3 separate regions of the Homo sapiens genome follow, and regions 1 and 3 are each linked to region 2. The links are contacts of gene promoters, found by promoter capture Hi-C in human tissues and cell types (Jung and others, 2019). All regions are on one chromosome and are shown on one strand. Each heading gives the region's core, a stretch centred on a gene start or on the middle of the fragment in contact. The rest is flanking DNA. Distances are from core to core; before and after follow the strand shown. Region 1 has its middle 70 kb from the start of MYO3B. Region 2 holds the start of MYO3B (myosin IIIB). Region 3 overlaps UBR3 (ubiquitin protein ligase E3 component n-recognin 3).

The links. Contacts are between HindIII fragments. The study calls those that stand out against the background at their distance.
Region 1: a fragment that was not itself captured here is called in contact with the fragment with the promoter of MYO3B in region 2 in 5 of the 25 tissues and cell types used here (H1 embryonic stem cells, IMR-90 fibroblasts, liver and 2 more).
Region 3: a fragment that was not itself captured here is called in contact with the fragment with the promoter of MYO3B in region 2 in 2 of the 25 tissues and cell types used here (H1 embryonic stem cells and adrenal gland).

The regions. Positions count from the first base shown.
Region 1 is chr2:170,106,634-170,109,492 of GRCh38, reverse strand. No RefSeq gene overlaps it. Among named protein-coding and RNA genes, the nearest start is that of MYO3B, 70 kb to the left of the region's middle. RefSeq lists an enhancer at 2,610-2,859. The HindIII fragment of the contact is 5,361 bases long and covers 1-2,859 here.
Region 2 is chr2:170,176,897-170,179,756 of GRCh38, reverse strand. It overlaps MYO3B (myosin IIIB), which reads right to left and starts at 1,610. Exons shown (of 35, transcript NM_138995.5): 1 at 1,468-1,610. The coding sequence starts at 1,469. The HindIII fragment of the contact is 10,734 bases long and covers 1-2,860 here.
Region 3 is chr2:170,075,982-170,078,703 of GRCh38, reverse strand. The region is part of intron 36 of UBR3 (ubiquitin protein ligase E3 component n-recognin 3); the gene reads right to left. It also overlaps the pseudogene NSA2P5. Among named protein-coding and RNA genes, the nearest start is that of MYO3B, 100 kb to the left of the region's middle. RefSeq lists an enhancer at 149-928. The HindIII fragment of the contact is 5,181 bases long and covers 1-2,722 here.

The DNA.
Region 1 (2,859 bases), core at 85-2,584, 70 kb after region 2:
GACCCATAGGACTGAAGGAGGTATCAATAATGGGGCAGAACCCATGAAAACTCTTGAAGAAACAGAAGGGCTGTGGCTTTGGGAACTCAGGACGAAGGGACTTCACCCCACCCCAGCATTGTGACTGCTGGGAGACCTTGGGGTGCAGCATGGGAACAGTGGCAGCAGTCATTGCCTACTGGAATGGAGGAGCAGGAGCAGAGGACATTATGTGGACAAGCTGGAGTGAATAGAGCCACACTCTGGCATTAGAGAGGAGCAGAGAGGAAGAAGCCAAGAGGTCAGTGTTTCTGATCTAGCATGGCTTTGCTGCTTCCAGGGACCTCTTGATGCATTCATGGAACTTGCAGGGGTTGGGGAGGTGGGTGAGCGATTCACACCAAAGCTGCCAGTGTCTCAAGTTGTCTGCATGGAGAGAAATGTTTCTGAAGCATACAGCACCATTGCTGCTGCAGGCTTCGTGTGCATGAGTTTGACTATAGCCGTGTCCTCCAGGACACTGTCATGGGCCAACATGCTATGTGCATATATCCTAGATGGGCCATTGGTCTATCAAACCTAGTGAGACAAGTCCAGCTCTCAGGTGAGCACAGGTTAGGCTCAAAAACCGGCTCTGCTACACTGGTTTCAACTTTGTTCTCATCATATGCACTTGGCTAATGGATTCTGTCCCTTGAGAGATCACACAGTTAAACTAGACCATCCTGCAGATCTCTCGATACCCAGCCTCAAACACCCCTAACTCGATGTTGCTTTCTTCCTAAGCTCCACATTGGGTTGTGGAAATGATATTCGCTTTAACCCATTGAATCCCAGCTCTGCCACTAACTCGTTGTGTGACTTTGGGAAAGTTGTTTACCTTCTTTGAGCTTCAGTTGCCCCATCTATTAAATAATAATGTATATTTCACAGTATTGCTTTATAAATATCAGCCCCTTTCCATTTCTCTATAGTTCAGTGTCATAAGTAATAGGCCCATGTTTTGACATTTGAAAAGACATATTTATAGTCAGCCACTTTGTTCATAACTTCATATATTAATTTTAGTTTGAACATTTCGTTAATGGAAAATACTTCAGATATAGCAGAAAATTCTCCAGAGATATTTTTCAATGGGTGGTAGGTTTTAAAGTGTCTCTGTCTTTTGGAATGGATGGCAGACAATTAGCCTGCCTTTTGCATGAGAAATCAGACTAATTACTGGTGAGGCTTGGCTAATGGGGTCCTTTGTGAACTCTCTCCCTAAATGAGAAATCTTTAACTTTTCACAAAAATGCAATCTCATTTGTGCTGCTGATTCCTAATATTTTGAAATAAATGCATGGCCTCTGGGCTTTTGTAGTCAAATAGCCCAAATCAAACCAAGCTGCTCTGCTAGGAGAAAAGTATTTTGTGTGAATCTCCTGGAAGAAACTTTTAGAACCAGTTTGGAGTTACCATAAGCAAAGACTGGCTGTAGCCTGCTATGGGGCAAGATTCATGGAACTTGCAGGGGTTGGGGAGGTGGGTGAGCTATTCACACGAAGTGGGCCTGGGCTTAGAGTGTGGGTTTACCCTGTTTGGGCTGAATTGGCTTGTTCAGGTGCTTGAACAATAAATTCTGGCATGTTTCAGAGCTCTGTTTATAAGAAGCTGGCAATTTTCATGACCCCAAGTTGACTGCCACCCATAGACACAGGATCAGGGTTCTTTCTGTATCTAAGGCAGAGGAGACAAAAGGTCAGGAAAACCATTATCTGCCCTGCATCAACTTGAAATAAGGATAAAAGTCTGTGGAGGGTAAAAGGAGTTTGAGGCATGGGACATCCTAATAATGACAGGGTCATCCACCAGCAGGAGGCCATTCAAAGAGAGCTTGAAACAGACTGATAAACATGGGAATGCTGATAGGAGGAGAGGAATGGGCAACCCAGGGCTTGGCAGAAATCTGGAGGAATCCAAAAAACGACCCAGAGCTGAGCTGTAACCCATCAGGTCAGCTGGAGGGAGCTGCTCCGGTAGAATCTCCAGTGGCCGTAAAGGGGATGTCTGAAATGTTCTACTTAATAGTCTTTCCTTCAAATTTCCTTCTTAACAAGGACTTTCACAACCACAACTCTTGAGTTATGGGGTCAAAATGGAACTTGGAGATGCTAGGTGCCTTTAGATTCCTTTTGTAATATTAAATGACATTAAATTGCTTCCTAGATGACCCTAAGCTCTTCCCCTATTTTATTTTCACCAGCTCCACTAGTTCTTCCTGAAACTTTGAGAAGGGATGGTTGTCTGCCCCATAAAGGTTTGGGATATTCTGGGTCCCCAATCTGAACTGATGGTGGAATGGAAAGAATCCTTCATTTTTACTTAATAAAGATATCATTCAATTAAAGAAAAGATTTGGTAGAAAACTTTAGGAAGATAAGAGACAGAGATGGTTTTAGGACATACAGATAGTAAAGTTGTAAGGGGAGCTTTTGGCAAAAGTAGGAGCCCGTAAACCTCTCCTGTACCTGGCCTAGAACACCTTGATCTAAAACCTCTTTTTAAATCCTTTAGCATCTCCATCTCCCATTTCATTCTCAGCATGTGTACCATCCCTGTAGAAAATAAGCTTAGGCAGAGGTCTCCATCACCACATGTAAGACTAAATAGGTCATTAAAGGCCTAAGCCTAGGCAGAGAAAGAAAGCCTTTTATTTCTCAATAACCATGATTCTCAAACTGTAGTGTGCATAAGGACCACCAGGAAAATATGTTAAAGTGTATAGAGAGTTATTCCCAGGATGTGGTTCATCCTCCTCCTCCTCCAGGATAGCACTCTGTGAGTCTTAAGTTGCTCACAACAGCTGCTGCCTCTTTTCAAAGATCACAAAGGAGCAAG
Region 2 (2,860 bases), core at 361-2,860:
GTAACAGAATACCACAGACTGCATCATTTATAAACAATAGAAGTTTATTTGGCTCATGGTTCTGGAGGCTGGGAAGTCCAAGATCAAGGGGCCACATCTGGTGAGGGCCTTCTTGCTGCATCATAACATGGTGGAAGGTCTCACATAGTGAGACAGGGCAAGAGAGTGAGAGCTCAAGAGAGAGAAAAAGGAGACTGAACCTATCCTTTTACTAGGAGCCGTCTCCCACAATAACAGCATTAATCCATTCATAAGGGCAGAGCCCTCATGACCTAGTCACCTCTTAAAGGTCCCATTTCTTCTCACAATGGCAATTAAATTTCAACATGATCTTTGGAGGGGACATTCAAACCATAACCATGGTAAAGACGTAAGAGTAGGAACTGGCTTCTTCACAAACCACCTATCTGGATGCTGCTAGATAGGGCCTGTTCAAGTATAGCTCAAATGTCTTCTCTTCTAGGAGGCCTTTCCTAATTTTCCCACTAGAACTGACCTTTATGGTTCCACTGATTATGTACTCTTTTCCTTTCTTTAAATTTTATTTTATTTTAAGTTCCAGGTTACATGTGCAGGACGTGCAGGTTTGTTACACAGATAAACATGTGCTATGGTGGGTTGGCTGCACCTATTAAGCCCCCCATGCATTAGCTATTTATCCTGATGCTCCAGGGGAGACACTCAGGACTGGCATTTGACAGAGCTTGGTAGAGGAATCCAATGATCTCTAGGTTGATCTCTAAGTTCCATCTCTAATGTTCTATGGATTTTAAACCTTGAATATACAAAATTACTGAGAGGAAGAAAAGAATCATGGCATAATGGAATTTATCTACTATTGTTTACATTGTCATGTTACCAAATTAACAAATCTGTCATGATATTGCAGTCACTAAGGAACAATACATACCCACAGCTCTTACAAATGATTAACTAAATGATCAGATTTTTCATTTCCCCACCAAAGCATGAGGAAATTTATCTTAGCTTTAGCTGCCTGAAACCTCTCTTGGGTGAAAAACATTAAAAACATCTGCAAATTACTGATGACTAATGCCCTTCAATTTGGCCTCAAGCTGAGAAATTCTGTGCAGAAATAAAGTGGTTTATAATCCCACAGGTCCATTCTATTATAAACTGCAGGTGGCAAATCAAGTGACTATGAACTATGCTGTGTGTATGTGTGTGTGTGTGTGTGTGTGTGTGTGGTGTGTGTCTGTGTAAAAAGCAATACTCAAGAGGGTGTTTATCCTACTCCTTCAAGAGAAATTTAACCACCCAGACAAAAGGCAAATGCTAACTGAGAGGACCCAGGAATCTGGGTGATGTCAGACAGAGGCCCAAAGCCAGAGTGGCTGTCATCCCCCTCCACTGCCCACCAGCCAGGGCAGCTGCATCTGCCCTTTGCAGAAAAACAATCTAAAGCAAGCACAGAAGAAAGCTGGAAGGAAAATAACTGCAACTCACATCGATGACCTATTTTCTGAATCCGGCTTATGAGAGATTGGATTCTCATTCCTCCAAAAACCAGCAGAACACTTCAGGCCCAGAAAATGGTGTCTTTGATGACTAGAATGTATGACACATCATTACCAAAGGACTTTCGATCTAGGTTCCAAGAGGTGTTAGCCTCAGATGACTATTGTGGGAGGAGCTGATAAATCCACCAAATCCTTGGTGACTTTGCTTCACTATTAGGCAAGATTAAGATGATGCTAATTGGTAGTGAGCCTGATCTATTTAGTGTCTCCTACCAGGACACAGAGCAGAATCAAAACCATTCTCACAGATCCTGTTTGCATGTCATTTAACAGTTCCAATGTGATATTCCCCCAACCTTTTAAAGTTCCTTCATTCCAGATTAAATTCCTTCATTCCAAATGCTGCACAATCAAAACTAATCATCTTTTTGTGAGCAAAGGGCATAATCAAAGCATGTAGTCAGGGTCACTTTTCTGAACTGCAGATAAACCCAGGGGAAACACCATGAGTTTCTGATCTGAATTACCAAGCAATGAAACAGTGACTATTCAACAGTGACTATTCATTCAGTAGCATGCCCTGGGCTATATACAGAACAGTAGGTTAAGAGGAGGCAGGGGGTGGGGGGGTGGTGCTGGGCATGGTGGATCACGCCTGTAATCCCAGTACTTTGGGAGGCCAAGGCTCGTGGATCACCTGAGGTCAGGAGTTCGAGACCAGCCTGGCCAACATGGGGAAACCCCATCTCTACTAAAAATACAAAAATTAGCAGGGTATGGTGGTGTGCGCCTGTAATCCCAGCTACCAGGGATGCTGAGGCAGGAGAATTGTTTGAACCTGGGAAACGGAGGTTGCAGTGAGTAGAGATTCTGCCACTGCACTCCAGGCTGGGCAACAAAGTAAGACTCCATCTCAAAAAAAAAAAAAAAAAAAAAAAAGGGAGAGAGGGGAAGTGAGAAACAGGAGGGTAGGGTCCCCAGAAAGCTTCTTTTCTGGCCAGCTAACATGACACATAGGCCCATGTGAAATAGTTGAAGACTGTGCAATAACACTGGATAAGCTATATCCATCAATTCTGAGGAGGAGTCAGTTCAACCCAGGACCAAGACTTGAGTGGGAATGCTTCCTGGAGCAGATAAATCTAGGTACAGTTTTGAATGAAGAAGTGAAAAGGATTAGTGTAGATGAGGCAGGAGAGAAACCCAGAGCCAAGAAACAGCACACAGAGAATGCAAATATGAAGAAGGTGATTTAAAGGACAGCGATCTTACTCCCGCTAGTCAATAATGGCCTTTGTGTTTCCATTTACTGTCATAAGAATCTTAAGAATGGGGATAATGTGTTCTATCTTCCTATATTTCCTACAGTATTTGCACAT
Region 3 (2,722 bases), core at 17-2,516, 100 kb after region 2:
AACAGGTGGATGTCCATGGAATTCACTGATCTTAACATATATTCAATCATCTGAAAAAAGCTGTGGTATTTTAAATCATGAACTACAAAACTGATTTTTTCAGTGCCACAAAAATTATGAAATTCATGAAATTTACAAACTTTTAGATGGCACCAGCTGGAAGAAATCACCTACAGAATGTGTATGCTCTAAACAGCAACCAGTATATATGGGTGACCTTTTTCACAATTGGAATGCATATGTATGGGAAACAAGAGGTGGAAAGTATTTAACAGCTGTAACACCTCTCATGATTACACCTAAAATTCGGTCTTGCCTTTCCTGTTGCGGCCTGTGTGGAGTTCACTCGTGGGTCTCTGAGACCCAAAAATTGAGAGCATTTTCGCACCCCAGGGGCTGCGCCTGTGCCATGCCACAGATCAAATATATTGAATTACACTGTAAATGCCATGGATATCATTTGGATTACCATGAGAAAAAGGGAAAGAAGGAAAGTTGAGAGGCTTATGAACATTCAAAGAAGTCAAAGAAAATGATTGGTCTGAAGGCTAAGCTTTATCTTAAACAGCACCATGCTGAGAAAATACAAATGAAAAAGACCATCAAGATGCATGAAAAGAGAAACACCAGACAAAAGAAAGACTCCACAGGGAGCAGTACCTGCCTATCTGCTGGACAGAGAGGGACAACCTCAAGCTAACGTACTTCCCAGTATGATTAAGCCGAAATGAAAAGAGAAAGCAGGAAAATGGAAAGTCCCTCTGTCTAAATGTAACTTGCCCAGGGAGATACAGAAGTGTTAAGAGTTATTTGAACAGAGCCAGGTGCAGTGGCTCATGCCTGTAATCCCAGAACTTTGGGAGGCCAAGGTAGGCAGATCATTTGAGGTCAGGAGTTCAAGACCAGCCTGGGCAACATGGTGAAACCCTGTCTTTACTAAAAATACAAAAATTAGCTGGGCATAGTGGCAGGCGCCTGTAATCCCAGCTACTCAGGAGGCTGAGGCAGGAAAATCACTTGAACCCAGGAGGCTGAGGTTGCAGTAAGCCAAGATCGCTCTACTGCACTCAAGCCTGGGCAACAGAGTGAGACTCTGTCTCAAAGTTATTCCAACAGGAAAGAGAAAGACGCAGGCATAGAGGAGGATGGTTACTAAAGTCTGCTTTGTTGGAGATGGCTTTACAAGAAAACTACTTATCTATGGAAGATTCATCAGGCCAATGGGCTTGCGTTTCAAGAAAGCCCATGTAACACATCCTGAACTGAAAGCCACCTTTTGCCTAACAATACTTGGTGTAAAGAAGAGTCCCTCATTCCCAATGTATATAACTTTGGATGTTATTACCAAAGGTACTGTTACTGAGGTGAATGTGAGTTGGGCCTTGTGACACAAGGAGGCAAGGTTATTTGGGGAAAATAGGCTGTGGTTACCAACAATCCTGAAAATGATGGATGTATAAATGCAGTCTTACTGGTCTGACAGCACTTTCATAGATATTTATTGAAGACTACACACCAACTGAAAAAACTGCCATTACTGTGATGTTTCTGAATACTACCAAACAGCCTTACATGTCTGCAATCAAGAGATTTATTAAATTGTAAACATTAAAATGGAAAAAAAAATTCGGTCTTAAATTTCTGCTTCACTGCTATTCCGGACTCTTCTGCGGATTTACAAGCTATGTACTGTCTAACCTCTAGTACGGTTTATAACATCACAAGGGTGGCTTATCGCATTGCCTGGAGGGATTGACCATGACTATCAAGAAGAATAAAAATATTGCCATACAATTGGTAGAGCAATATTTTGGAACTTAAAAACCCCTACCACCACCCCTACCATAGACCAAGCTTGAAAGGCAGAAATTTAACACAGAATGATTACAGCCTTATAGAAACAAAGACAGGACCAATCACCAGAAGCTCAGCCCTTTCAGAATAAAGTTTGGTATCACATCCTTGCTCAAACAAATCCAATCATCCGTTGAGGTGTGCTGGATCACGGATGGTAAAAGAAGAAAGTCATATATATTTGACTGTATATTAGCTGCAGCTTTATGACTACTTGCAAATCTTGCTTACTGTATCATATATCTTTGCAACATTTTCATTCTCTTACTATTGAATTCAGGGTGAGCAGGTACTAATTAAAATTTTCCAGGCCATCTGGGTGTGAGTACAAATGACAGGAACAATGGACATCTCTCAGAGCTACTGGATGCAGAGAGGCCTGATGATGTAAGGACTATATGTGACATCAGGTTGCTTATTTGGGAAAGTCACAGATGCATTTGCAGTCATAAGTAAAATGGTTACATCATTTTCAACAGCAGAAGTGAAACTGTGAATGAGAAGAAGGGTGTGTATGAGCCAGGCAGGTAAGATGTGAAAGTAGTGGGCCACTAGTTTGTTTTTTAAATCCTCCTAGCATCCTTTGCTGCTTTCTTATATTAATAACATTATAAGTTCTTTTAGAAAATAACCCCTTTTCTTGCTCCGTACAGTTCTGATGGGGCTGTCCCCAACACAAGATCCTGCCCCACCACTGGGGTATATGTATTACAACAGTTAGGCCAACCAGATTCTCTCTCCCAGGAATCTGAACCTTGAGCATGCAAATTAAAGGAAGGAAAATGGTTGAGGCTTAGTTATCTGGTGGCAGCACTTCAGAGAAAACAGAGCAGAGATATTTGTGGTTTCTCTTCTTCCCAAGCGATGA